5 separate regions of the Homo sapiens genome follow, and regions 2, 3, 4 and 5 are each linked to region 1. The links are contacts of gene promoters, found by promoter capture Hi-C in human tissues and cell types (Jung and others, 2019). All regions are on one chromosome and are shown on one strand. The core of a region is centred on a gene start or on the middle of the fragment in contact, and the rest is flanking DNA. Distances in the headings are between cores, read along the strand shown.

Region 1 (2,700 bases), core at 44-2,543:
GATTTTTTCTTAGTTGGATAGAAAGAGATTGAAAATGATTCAAAAAGGCCAGTTGCGGTGTCTCATGCCTGTAATCCCAATCCTTTGGGAGGCTGAGGCAGAAGGATCACTTGAGCCTAGGAGTTTGAGACCAGCCTGAGCAACATGGGAAGACCTCATCTATAAAAAAAAAATAATAAATTAGCTGGGTGTAGTGGTGGATGCCTGTAGCCCCAGCTACTTGGGAGGCTGAGGTGGGAGGATCATTTGAGCTCAGGAAGTCAAGGCTGCAGTGAGCTGGGATGGCACCACTGCACTCCAACCTGGGTGACAGAGTGAGACCCTATCTCAAAAAAAAAAAAAAGAAAAGAAAAGGAAAAATCAACAGGCTTTGGTAACAAATTGGAGAGGGACAGAATCAAAGTAACTAACTATATGGTTCAATCCTAGATAATGGAAGAAGGCTGGAAGCATATAAAGCAAAGGGTGTTTATCTGGGGAAAGAAAACACTATTTGAGTTGTCAGGGTTCTGGTTCAGGTTAGGGTTAGACATCCATGTACTGTTGGTCCATCAGGCTGTTGGAATTACAGCAGCAGAACCCTTGAAGGAGGGATCACAATGGGAGCAATGTGGGATGAATGGGGATAAATGCTAAATCTGGGTACTGGAAAGGATAAAGAGAGGGCAGAGCAAAGGCCAGAGGTTTCATCTTTGTGGAAGGTCTGTATTCAGAGCAGAGAGGAAGTTGAAGCCCAACTCAAACAGGCAGATAAAGAGAGATCAAAGAGATGAGCATGAGATACAGTCCCCTCGTGCCCAAGGAGACAGGGTGGTTACAGACATGGAAAATCTGAGAATAATCACCTCTGATAAAGATCACAGAAGCTGCCCGGGAGGTGTTTGGTAAGCTTGGAGTTACGTTTGTGGGGTGGATGGGCAGAAGTCAGATTTCATAGCACTGAGGATGCAGCACAAGGAGAAGTTCAAGATCAATTCCTAAGACAACAACTTGGCACTAAAAAACATAAACTATGTTCTGAAGGCTTTACCCTGGGGACAAGGGAAGGGAGGTGATAACAGCAGAAGTGGCAGCCACTGGCGATCCTTTCTTTCCATGGTTTGGCTTCTACTCCAAAGCCACTTATTTGTGCATTCTACAAAAAGTTTCTTGTCCTTTTTGAAATAAAGCTCTTATCCTAAGCTCCATTCACACCTGCGTGATAATGAACCAGCTAGTACTTACTGTACTCAGGAAGCATGCAAAGTTCTGAATCTTAGAACAGAAAGTGAAAGCAAAAGTAAATTCCCCTTCAGTCAAATCTGCAGCAGCATGATTTAAGGTAACGTATCAACATTTCTCTTGGGTTTGTCTTAAAATTAGATTTTTTCAATAAGAATAATGAACTGAAGGTATAGAACTGCTGTGTTGAGAAGGTTTTGTAATCTAAGGCAAGGTTCTGGGGGACTGGGGTGAATTGGGCGCGGCTGTATTAGAAAGTGTATGCAGTTGAGGCTGGGACTTGATCTAAGACGCTGCTGCACTGACTCTCTTTCAGAGATCTTTTTGTCTTTTCTAAGCGTTTGTGACAATTCTTGCCTCTTCAATCCCAGGATGTTTTGTTCACTGCATTGCTATTTAAGGTACAGTGCAGTATAATAGAAAGCCCACCAGACCAAAGGGCAAAGAGCTATGTTTTAGTCCTGATTCTGTTTCAGACTTCCTGTGTGGATTTTGAGAAGTCACCATCCTGTTCCTTCATCTGTTTATTTAATTTAATTTATGTATTTATTTATTTATTTATTTTGAGAGAGAGCCTCGCTCTGTCGCCCAGGCTGGAGTGCAGCAGCACGATCTCGGCTCACTGCAACTTCCACCTCCCTGGTTCAAGCGATTCTCGTGCCTCAGCCTCCCGAGTAGCTAGGACTACGGGCATGTGCCACCATGCCCGGCTAATTTTTGTATTTTTAGTAGAGGTAGGGTTTCACCATGTTGGTGAGGCTGGTCTCGAATTCCTGACCTCAGGTGATCTGCCCACCTTGGCCTCCCAAAATGCTGGCATTACAGACCTGAGTCACTGTGCCCGGTCCTGTTTCTTTATCTGAACACTAAGGACTTGTACTAGCTGGCCTTTACAACCCTTACTAGTTCTAAAGTTAAAGACTGTGTGAGTAAAGCTTTTCTCTCTACTCTTATCAATCAAGTACATCTCTAGGAGTGTCTGCTACAAGTGGGGGCGAGCTACTCCTTCATTTTGGCCATTGAATGCAAGTTATAACCTCAATAATAATTTCATATCCAACACTAATTACTTACTTCCTATATGCTCCATGCTGTGCTGTGCCAACTTCTTCACATGAATTATTTCATTTAATCATCCCAGCATGAGGAAGGTATAATTATTACACTGTTTTATGGTTGAGATAAATGAAGCTCAAAAAGTAAAAAACTTTGCCCATGATCACGTAGGTGAGGTTGGTGGAATTAGCGTTGGAATCTGGGCACTCTGATTCCAAAGCCTCAGACCCACATAATAAGCCACTCCATTTTTTTTAAACCCTCCAAAATTCAAGCTAATAGACCAATTATGAGTGTACTTATCAGACGTTCTTGGAACACTGAGATTTGTAGCAGTAATTTAATGCTTGTTTTTAAAAAGAGGGAGAAGTATCTTTAATATTATTTTATTTTTGTTCCTTTAACAATACCTGTCACCTGCAT
Region 2 (2,700 bases), core at 77-2,576, 220 kb after region 1:
AGCCTGTGGTTATTGAAATTATTGAAAAATAACTCTATATGATCAAGGAACTTTCATGTCTTAAAAAATAGTTATGAAAACTTAACATAGACAGATGTCCTACTGTCCATTCAAAAAAGCTTTTAGCTGGGCACGGTGGTGTGTGCCTATAGTTCTAGCAACTTGGGAGGCTGAGGCAGGAGAATTGATTGAGCCCAAGAGTTTGAGACCAGTCTGGGCAACATAATATTTTATCTCTTAAAACAAAACAAAAAAGCTGACTTCAATTAACTGTCTTTACATCTGCTTGCTTGGGAAGAGGTTCTCTTATGAAAATCAGGAGACTCATAGTCAGGTTTTAGGCATCTTAAAATTATTTGGTAAATTTTAAAGCTATCAGATTATTAGAAGAGCAAATAGCACTTCTCTCATGTCTAAAATTGCCATTGGAATGAAATGTTTTTCTTCTTTTCTGTCAGAGATCCAGTTTGGCATTCTGTCTAAGTTCACTGCACAGTAAGTACTCTGAGAGCCCACAGACACCTCAGTAAAAGCAAAACCACTTGTGTCTGCTAATTAAAACACACATGAATACCAGCTGAGCTGCTCCTTCTGCCCGCCCCCAGATGGAGACCTCCCTGTCTGCACAGGGTCCTCGGTCCAGTGCCCAGGGATGGCTGTCCCCTCCTGGCCCCTCTCCTCCACATCTTCCTGCCCTTGTTCAGACTTTCACTTCATCACGTCAGTATGCTAATTTGAAAAAGTGGGAGTGCTTTGTTCGAGAAACCAAATCTCGTCCAATCTGGCTGTCACTGCTGTTCCTCTCAGGCTTTCCATCAAAGTGGCCCCAGTGGCTGAGAAGGGCAAATTTGTGTTGCCCTTCCTACCATACTAACAAACCAACTCACCGAATACTTTGAAGCCATAAAAATGAATGGGAAGATTGTTTTAATATTTGGGAACCAGTCTCTATGATGTAACAGGAGGGCCAATATTTGTAAATAAGAAAAATTTTTTGGTTTTATGTCTTATAAAGATCCACTCAAATTTTGCATTCTATTGTGTATGTCCATTTTTAGAAAAGAGAAAATAAATATTGGCCAGGTGTGGTGGCTTGTGCCTATAATCCCAGCACTTGGGAGGCTGCGGCAGGTGGATCACTTGAGGTCAGGAGATGGAGACCAGCCTGGGCAAAATGGTGAAAACCTGTTTCTACTAAAAATAAAAAAATTAGCCAGGTGTGGTGGTGGGTACCTGTAATCCCAGCTACTCGGGAGGCTGAGGCAGGAAAATTGTTTGAACCTGGGAGGCGGAGAGTACAGTCAGCTGCGATCGCGATACCACACTCCAGCCTCGGCAAGTGAGTGAGACTCCATCACAAAAAAGAAAATAAATATCACTCCACTCCTCCGTTTGACCCCCACAACCCTAAATCTTTATGTAAAGTTGAGAACTCAGACACATATACTGGATTTATTTTGTGGCTTCCTATAGCTATCTATCTTGGCATTGTTCTTGCATCCTTGTGGCCCAGTTTGAGAAACAGCCTATTGCTAACAGGGCTCTTAATTCCATCCTCTGATAACTGTTGACTTAGAAACATACTATTCTTCCTCTGGGGTCTTCTGGGCTCTTTTTCTTATCTATACACTAACTGCTCTCCCCGCCCCATAAGGGACTATCATTCCACCCTGAAAATCTCCTAAGACTTTAGAATTCACAACTCTTCTGTGAACAGAACCAAAACCCTTTCTCATGCCCCTTGACAACCTTCATCTTTCAAAAATGTCCCCAAAGAGACTTGAACTGCTTTCGTCTCCAGGATGAAGGTCAACCTCCTCACCACCTCTGGTTTGTCTAAATTTCTATCCCATCACGAAGCAGCTTTTTTTTTCTCTCCAGTAACACAACTGCCACTTCCTCAGTGTTGCTTTTGTTCTTAACATTCCCTAGGGAAGATGACCTCCTTTCCAACTTCTTACATTATATCCCCATCTAGTTTTTGTCCTCTGTAGAGATATTCATCTTGCCATCATTATATAAAGTATATTTAAATATTTTCACATATTTTTTGTCTCACTTCTTTATTTCCCCTCATAAGACCAAATTCACTCTCTTCACATTTTCCCAAAACTATTAGCTCTTGGCTCAACTCCAGGAAATCTTTGCATGCCTCTGACTGATTCCATTGGAAATCCTTGCATGATTGCAGAGTGGGAAGGAGAGGGCTGCTGTGGAGTTCTGCTTACTAGTTTCCCCATGATTCTTTGCTGCCTGGTGTTCGCTGGCTCATATTCTACCTGGAGAAGCTCTGTTACTCTAAAGGAAGTTAGTGTAGTCAGGTGCTGTGGAATGTCCCAGCTACTTGGGAGGCTGAGGCAGGAAGATCATGAGTTTGTGCCCAGCCTGGGCGAAATAGTAAGACCTCTGTCTCAGAAAAAAAAAAAAAAAAGAATATATATAAATTTTTTTTTAAATAAAGGAAATTAGTGTTGTCTTTTCCTGTGAGGGTCTGTCATAGTCCTCACGGAAGTCTTTTGGGGTGTGGTGTTTTGTTTGTGGGGTAATCTGGAAGCCTGAGGGGCCCAGCTGCACCAACAGAAAAACAAGTTAGCCTCATAAGGTGAGGCAGGTGAGGCAGGTGAGGCAGGTGAGGCAAGGTTTAAAGTGAGTGGGGCCAATTATACATGTTCATGGTCTTTTATTTATAATTCTGATATT
Region 3 (2,700 bases), core at 92-2,591, 150 kb after region 1:
CTTAGAACATTATTTAGTACATAGTGTCAGTAAATGTTTGCTACGAACATTAATAAGAGTATATTCTGAAATGTATCCTAATTTTCAAATAATTCAAATGACCTAGTTTTTTTTAAGAATAGTAATATAATTAACCTGCCCATTCAAATCAAATAAGGTTTTTACCAGAAAAAAATACCCACCTCCCGAATTGTAATAAATTCTACCAGAACTTATTTCCTAAATGTTTTTACTATTTAAAAACTATTTATTGTCATGTGACAATATAGGTAAATGCCTATTTTATTGGTGAGTTCTTTCTTCATTTAAAAAAAATGACATTTTCAATCTATAGATCAACCGTAGACTAATGCAACAGTTATTTCTCAATTTGCTACACAGCTTTAATTAGGAAACCATACTAATTTTAATTTAAGTTCAGTCATCACTTCTTCATGAATAATAATTTTGGAGGCTAAATCTGCTTTGCTCTTCAGGTTAATGAAAAGTAGCCTGAATGGAGATAACTTCCGAACACAGAAGCTGTCTTTTATCATTAGAACAGTGGGTCGACATTTTCCTGGACACTTACTGGCATGGGATTTTGTCAAAGAGAACTGGAATAAGCTTGTACAGAAGTAAGTTTCTCAGAGAATTATTAACTTTTAGTATTCTCAAGTTGTGCATTTGAAAAAAGCTCCCAGTGTTTTGGCTCACAGAAGTTAGGATTTGCTGTGAGAGGAAAAATACTTCCATGACAGTTTAACTGAAACATCCGGAAATTTTCACATTTGTTAACATAATTCCATAGCATGAATCATTTAACAGTAGCATTCCATCTAAGTTCTAATTAAGCCTAGCCTTGCTTGGCACCAGGTTACTTAGCTCAGCGTGGCTACAGACTATTTCATAGCAACCATTTAGCTATGCATATTGAAAAATACCTCTGTATGGCCGGGCGCGGTGGCTCACACCTTTAATCCCAGCACTTTGGGAGGCCGAGATGGGCGGATCACGAGGTCAGGAGATCGAGACCATCCTGGCTAACACGGTGAAACCCCATTTCCACTAAAAATACCAAAAATTAGCCGGGCATGGTGGCGGGTGCCTGTAGTCCCAGCTACTTGGGAGGCTGAGGCAAGAGAATGGTGTGAATCTGGGAGGCAGAACTTGCAGTGAGCCGAGATTGTGCCACTGCACTCCAGCCTAGGCAACAGGGCGAGACTCCGTCTCAAAAAAAAAAAACAAAAAGGAAAATACCTCTGCATTGCCAAGGCATCAGTTAAGAACTCACATTCAGCTAGATGCAGATGTAGGTTTTTTGCTTCTTTCTCTCTTTTAAATCAATAATGGCATTTCTGGGTGTACAGTGTGATCTTCGACAATGTTAAGCGGATTAATTGTCTGCATGTTCTGAACTCTTCCCTTTTTCTGCCCACCTTTCCTTCCCACCGACAATAAGTATGCATAGGGCTACCCCGGTTTCCTCAGTTGCAGTTCCGGGAGGAGGATTCCACTCTGGCTTTGGCATTAAAGACTTTTCCTTGCACTCAGGAACAACGCTTTACCAGCAGCTGCCTAATCTTTTTGCTCTTGTTTTTGTGTTTCTTCAGGTTCCCTCTGGGGTCCTATACCATACAAAATATTGTTGCTGGATCAACTTACCTGTTTTCAACAAAGACACATTTATCTGAGGTTGGTTTTATAAAATGATAATACAGAGACTGGGCAACCCTCCGCACACCCGGACCAGGCTGCTCAGTTTTAGTGAGATGGTGGATTTTCATGCTAATTCCTTCTCTTATCTCTGTCTTCCTTTATCAGTACTAATGATTCTGCATTGTGATTACTTCTAGAGGGTGGCATATATGATAATGAGGAAAAAATCTGATTCCATTCTCTTCCCTTGTCTCCCTAATACAAATAATTTAAGTGGTCATAAAATTGTTTGGAAGAATTGCATTCTTGGGGTGAATTCATAGCACCAAGCCTTTGGACTCTACTTTATTTATTGTTACTTAAACATCTCCTTGGTTCCATTTTAAGTTAGAAAAATGTATCTGTGTGGGAGTAAAAAGATTTCCTTTTTAAAATCATTTCAGATATCACCATACTTGATTGGGAACTCCATGTAGATACCTTGAATATTAAAGTACTTCTTTCTACTGCTTTCAAGATAGCAGCACAGCCATCACTAAGTTAAAGCTTATTTTAAAAGCTGGGGTTACCTGAGGTTTATCGTCCTTTTCTTCTTTTGAAATTCTTCTGTGTGAAACTTACAGGTTCAGGCATTCTTTGAAAATCAGTCAGAGGCAACCTTCCGGCTTCGTTGTGTCCAGGAGGCTTTGGAAGTCATTCAGTTGAATATCCAGTGGATGGAGAAGAACCTCAAAAGTCTCACATGGTGGCTGTAGCATGCACAACCGCACCTCATTTTGTTGCCCATTCAGAGAGCTTGTAAGCTTGGGCTCTGCCGCTTTTGCAAAAGCCAAGGTAAAGCCAGGATCGCTGCCAAGTTGTTTGCACTCTTTGGAGTTCTAGTTAGCTCAGGGCCTGACTGTATTTTTCATCCATCTTTTCTGAAGTGTCTTTGGGCAGTATGTAGTTATTTATTACAAAATTATATTCACCTAAATGCCAACCATCTACAAAAACAATGAGTAATTTTTCTACTTTGAAGATACACAGATGGGGACAAAAACCCTGTTTTGGAATTCTGTT
Region 4 (2,700 bases), core at 175-2,674, 250 kb after region 1:
TTTGATGTGAGTGCCTACCTGTCCTCTCCCAACCGTTCCTTGCCACACATTAACCCTTATGCTTCCCTAATTCTGAAAATGCTGTGGTTCCCTATGCTAAGAGTGTCATTTTTTCCCTTTCCCATTGGCCAAGACATCATCAACTGAATGCCTCAGTTCACATTTATATTTCTTGTGAATCCTTCTTTGACTTCCCAGAGGCAGCATAGGTTTGTAGGTCTGTTTATTAAATTATACCCTTCCCTCACTCAGTGAAGGATTTGAAACCATGTAAAACAGATACACCTGGTAACAGGATACAATAAATGAGTGACTTCATAAGTTCAAAGGGAGAGTAAAGGTTAAAATATAAATAGTATCAGGTATGACGTTAGTCTTAAAAATTATATGATATTAAGTTCTGTAGACTTACACTACAAAAAAATGACCTGAAAATTTGCCTTGGGCTTTTTAGTTGACAAACTAAGAAACTTGATTGCTTATGAGTTTCACGGTATCCATAAGCAAGAAATAAAACATCTTTGCCAGTTATTGAAAATTGAGGGATAATTTACTCAATTAAAAGGGTATTTATAAAGGATATTGGCAAATTTAATTCCTTTCTGGTTGTTTTCATTCATAGGATATGGTACAACTTTGTTCACTATTTCCAAGAAAATTTGTAATGTTACCAGTTTACAAAAAGGTTTACTTTATTTTAGCCCAATGAACTTTCACTGACAAATTAATGGCTACTTCTTACCTGAAAGTTGCCAAAACAGCTTCCCCCTGGGAGGGTCACGTAACTCACAAAGGGAGGCCCAGGAGCTGGCAGTGACTCATAGACCACCACACCTTCACTTGGGAATGCAGCCTTCTGCTGCTGCTTGCTTTCCCAAAATTCCTGTAACATTGACACAACGTTCACTGAAAAAGACAAGAAACACCATCAGTTATTAAGGATGGACATAATCTGGTGCAAAACCAAAATTTTATTTGCAAGCTGGATTCTGTAGCATGACAGTTCCAGTTTAAGTAGAGCTGGGTATGTGGATAGTGGGGTGGAGGGGCTTTTAGCTGTGAAAGAATATACTTTATTTAAATATATTTAAAGTATGTTAAAATATACAAATTGAACCTGTTATTTACAAATGCAAATGTGTATATTTCTTAATGAGTAAGGCTCAAGAAGTGGTTTTGGTACCCTAATTAAAACAATATAGCAGTATTTCAAATTTACTCTATAAATTAATTTTTAATATAAAAATTAAAAATCTCATTCTGCTTTGAACATTTGTCTTAATAGACTTTATCCAGAGCTGTGATTATCTGTGGTCCTCTTTCTCATTTCTCATAGATTCTTAAGCCTGCAAAGATTTAAGAAGAGAAAGTCAGAAAGAAGGGAACTCTTTCATGCTCCTTCCACCCCAGTCTAAACGAGAATGAAAGGCAGTTGTAGAATAAGCAGGAGGCTGGAAAAATCCATGAGTGAAACTAATAACATGAAGACCTTGTTAAGAACAAGGTCTGTTCGAGTATTTCAGAAAACATAGTAATGGCTAGAGCCATATGTTTTAGATTAAATGACCTGTGATAGCCTGCAGAAGTTCCAGATCAAATTAGATTGGTTTGTTTATCCTGTACTGCAAATTAAATTGTAGAAATTAACAAGGATAATAGAATTGTAGAGTCAAAAGTGACCTTATAGGTCATGTAGGCAAAGCCCTGCCTAATGCAGGAATTCCTCGCCAGCATTCCTGACAGCTGCTCATCTGGCCTGTACCTGAACATGTGGAAGGACCTAGTACTTGCCACAACCTGAGGCAGCCTATTTCAACTGCTAATGGTTCTGTGAAAAGGTCCTTGTAGGAGTGAACTGAAATCTGCTTTCCTGTAAGGTTCATGCAGAGGGTCTACTTCTCATTTCTGAGGCCTCAAAAAGTTTATTTCCTTATCCACATGGGAGCCCACCACAGGTTTAAAAGCAGTATAAGACATCTGTTGTTTTGCTTGCCTGGCATTCACTTCCCTGCTTGTGGAAACAGCACCAAGATTTTCCTTGAACAATCATGTGGTCTCGAGGGGTGCAGGTGGGAATTTGGCCATAGCCAAGCCATTTAGGGACAATGAATGTGTTGAAAATGTTGAAAGTTTCCTGTTTTCAGTGGGGTTTCTGGAGCCGTAGGAGGTAAGCATGGTGCTGCCCAAGCAAGAAGAAAATCTGGCTGAGAAGAAAGCCCAGAGAACGGTTCAGTAAAGAGATGGAGGAGGGCTAAGTTTTGACAACATAGTTTGAGCTCCTGGTTTCAGCTATGCCCATAATCCAGGATCCTTGATTGGACTTGAAGTTATCTAACCAACCCACCTGCTTTTTCCTTAAGCCATTTTCAGGTGGCATCTCTCACATGCATATGAAAAGTACACTAAACAGTCAACACTCATGTTTTTTCAAGTTCTAGATTAAATAGTTTTTGCTCTTTCAAACATGCTTTGTGTAACACGGCATCTATGCCCTTTGCCATTATCCTGAATATATTCTTGGATCTGCTTTAAAATTCTGGACAGTGACATTTTTCAGTGAGTCTGGAGTATCTCAGAGTGTGATCTGGAGGCAAAATCATTGTATAGCCACTTTCTAAATGTTTACTAGAGCACTAGGTGTCTGCACCTCCTCTGTAGGTCACTGATCAGCTTCATGGTGTATAGTTCAGGCAAATTCTG
Region 5 (2,700 bases), core at 176-2,675, 200 kb after region 1:
TCTATCTCTTATCATCATAAACCTGAGTTTTTGTCCAAGTCTGTTTGCTAGGAAAGGCTGGCAGACTCCCAGTAAAATGGAAAGGTCTGTATTAATAATTCTAGTGACTGTTACCTTATAACTTTGGGATTAGAATAAGTTTCTGATAACAACATTTACAAGAATATTTGCCATAGATAACTCTATTTGTTCGCCTATGTTTATGAGTGGAATTTGATTTTATGCTCAAAAACTATTGATGACAATCTACTATTACAACTGTTGATGACAATCTACTATTGCATCTCTGATTTGGCTGTATACAACTGGACAAGTGTAAAATGACTCTGCAGATATCTTTAAAATTAGGAATCCAGATAAAAGCATATGCGGGTGAGGTTTTTTTGGTAAAATGTATTTTACAAGTAAAAGAAATTAAACAATTTAAAATGTACATTGTGGAATATAAATTTGTCACAATTAACAAGTGGTAGAGTGACTATGTCACAATTTAGTTGGGCAGAAGGGCAGGGGCATACCAAGGCTATGTAAAACGATTCACATTAGAACTTCTAATTGTGTGGAATTAAGAAAATTTGGCTAGGTGGAGTGGCTCATGCCCATAATCCCAGCACTTTAGAAGGCCGAGGTGGGTGGATCCCTTGAGCCCAGGAATTTGAGAACAGCCTGAGCAACATGGTGAAACCTTGTCTCTACAAAAAGTTAGCCAGGTGTTGTGGTGCATGCCTGTAGTTCCAGCTACTCAGGAGGCTGAGGTGGGAGGATTAACTAAGCCCGGGAGGCAGAGGTTGTAGTAAGCCGAAATTGCATCACTGCACTCCAGCCTGGGCCACAGAGTAAGATCCTGTCTCACAAAAAAAAAAAAATAAAATAAAATAATGAAGTAAAAGAAAAAGAAAAAATTTAAGTAGACTATGATGAAAGATAGCAAGCATTTATATTATATCATTCAATTAGAGCACCGTCTGAGTTAATGTTTTATGAGATTGCAGTTTTCAACTGTAGAGGATTACTTGATCATATTTGCTGTTTAACTTTCCTCCCTCATTAATCTATGGTTAACTGAAGTAGATTATTTGTTTTCAATTTGATCTAAATATGTCTTTTATAATCATTTCCATCTTTATAAACATAATTAATTCCTTCAAGTGTCCAGGTGGTAAATTCTCTCCTACATCTACTTCTATATATAGAGAGAGAGAGGGAGAGAGCTGGCAAGGAAAGAAAAGAGACAGTAATATATTGCTTAATGAAGGGGAGAATTCTGAGATTTTGTCATTTTGCAAACATCGTAGAGTGGACTTACACAAACCTAGGTGGTATAGCATATTGTCCCTAGGCTACAAACCTGTACAGCATGCTGTACTGAATACTATAGGCAATTGTAACACAATGGTTGGTATTTCTATATGTAAACATAGAAATGGTACAGTAAAAATATGGCGTAAAAGATAAAAACTGGTGCACCTGTGTAGGGCACGTAACATGCATGGAGGACTAGAAGATGCTTGGGGTGAGTCAGTGAGTGAGCAGTGAGTGAATGTGAAGGCCTAGGACATTACCCTACTGAATACTTTATGAACACTGTACACTTAGGCTACACTATAAACACAAATTTTTCTTTCTTCAATAATAAATTAACTTCAGCTTACTGTAACTTTTTTTTACTTTAAAGTTTATAAGGTAGGTTCGTTTATACCAGCATCACCACAAACATGGGAGTAATGCATTGTGCTACGATGTTATTATGGCTATGACTTCCATAGGTGATGGAAGTTTTTCAACTCCATTATATTCTTATGACGCCACTGGCATATGTACAGTTTGACATTGACTGGAAGGTCACTGTGCAGTACATGACTGAATATACACATACACATACTAACAATTTGGATATTAAACAGGGGAGATGATATAGATTATTGGGCAGAGAGCATAGTGGCATTGGATCGTTTGCTGATGATATTTGCATAAAGTAATTAAATCTGCCCCTGAGAAATAAACTTCCTTTGCTGATAGGAAGAAAATCTTTCTCATCAGACAGGTTTTCCTGTATCAGGGTTTACTCAGTTTGAACTGCTCAGGTATTATAATGCTGAAGCTTTCTCTTTTAATTACTTAGGCAAACTGGAATAACTTTCCTGCATACAGAAATGTATTTTGTTTTAAATGCTCAAAGTCTAATTAATCAGAATGTCGGTGCTCATTTGTATCAGGGGAAACCAGGGGAGAAGAGGGGGAAGGAAATTATCACAGTTGTCTTTGTTCCTTGGTGCTAACAGATTTAAAATGTCACCTTTGCTGCAAACTCTGTACCTCTGTAATGACAGAGAGGAAGCACAGCTGTGTGCCTTGGCTCTCTTGTGGGACCAAGTGAATTTCGTCAAGGGATCTGTAGCATCTATTGTGAGGGTGGAGGAGCTGATTCATTTAATGACACATGGGTTTGAGACATCATTTGCCAACCCCACTGAGAAAAACAAAACAAGAACTTAACCAGCACATGGGCACCATGTGAGCTTTTCTCTTTTTGTGTCCCTTTTCTTTATTGTTCAGTGCCCACCCCTTTCTTGGTAGGCAGAGGGGATATATATAGAGAGAAGGGGTGTGGGACACAAGGGCTGGTATAGAATGTGGAAATCTGTAGCATATTATTTCAAAGCACAGCACAATGGTTTGGTGGGAATCAAAGAATAGAAA

The links. The method cuts DNA at HindIII sites, captures the fragments that hold promoters and counts their contacts. A contact is called where the count stands out against the background at its distance.
Region 2: a contact is called between a fragment that was not itself captured here and the fragment with the promoter of ERAP2 in region 1, in 1 of the 25 tissues and cell types used here (dorsolateral prefrontal cortex).
Region 3: a contact is called between a fragment that was not itself captured here and the fragment with the promoter of ERAP2 in region 1, in 1 of the 25 tissues and cell types used here (spleen).
Region 4: a contact is called between a fragment that was not itself captured here and the fragment with the promoter of ERAP2 in region 1, in 1 of the 25 tissues and cell types used here (spleen).
Region 5: a contact is called between a fragment that was not itself captured here and the fragment with the promoter of ERAP2 in region 1, in 2 of the 25 tissues and cell types used here (aorta and dorsolateral prefrontal cortex).

The regions. Positions count from the first base shown.
Region 1 is chr5:96,875,207-96,877,906 of GRCh38, forward strand. It overlaps ERAP2 (endoplasmic reticulum aminopeptidase 2), which reads left to right and starts at 1,294. Exons shown (of 19, transcript NM_022350.5): 1 at 1,294-1,321. It also overlaps a transcript of ERAP1 not described here. RefSeq lists enhancers at 933-1,062, 1,083-1,232, 1,403-1,612, 1,983-2,192. The HindIII fragment of the contact is 2,321 bases long and covers 1-1,522 here.
Region 2 is chr5:97,098,479-97,101,178 of GRCh38, forward strand. All of the region lies in intron 4 of LIX1 (limb and CNS expressed 1), which reads right to left. LIX1-AS1 (LIX1 and RIOK2 antisense RNA 1) reads left to right here. Exons shown (of 8, transcript NR_187470.1): 5 at 459-495. Among named protein-coding and RNA genes, the nearest start is that of LIX1-AS1, 26 kb to the left of the region's middle. The HindIII fragment of the contact is 6,743 bases long and covers 1-2,700 here.
Region 3 is chr5:97,026,141-97,028,840 of GRCh38, forward strand. LNPEP (leucyl and cystinyl aminopeptidase) reads left to right here. Exons shown (of 18, transcript NM_005575.3): 16 at 477-617; 17 at 1,593-1,674; 18 at 2,262-2,700. The coding sequence ends at 2,393. Among named protein-coding and RNA genes, the nearest start is that of LIX1-AS1, 46 kb to the right of the region's middle. The HindIII fragment of the contact is 3,542 bases long and covers 1-2,700 here.
Region 4 is chr5:97,123,724-97,126,423 of GRCh38, forward strand. It overlaps LIX1 (limb and CNS expressed 1), which reads right to left. Exons shown (of 6, transcript NM_153234.5): 2 at 743-906. Among named protein-coding and RNA genes, the nearest start is that of LIX1, 18 kb to the right of the region's middle. RefSeq lists an enhancer at 53-1,252. The HindIII fragment of the contact is 8,097 bases long and covers 1-2,700 here.
Region 5 is chr5:97,076,751-97,079,450 of GRCh38, forward strand. The region is part of intron 1 of LIX1-AS1 (LIX1 and RIOK2 antisense RNA 1); the gene reads left to right. Among named protein-coding and RNA genes, the nearest start is that of LIX1-AS1, 4.4 kb to the left of the region's middle. The HindIII fragment of the contact is 6,816 bases long and covers 1-2,700 here.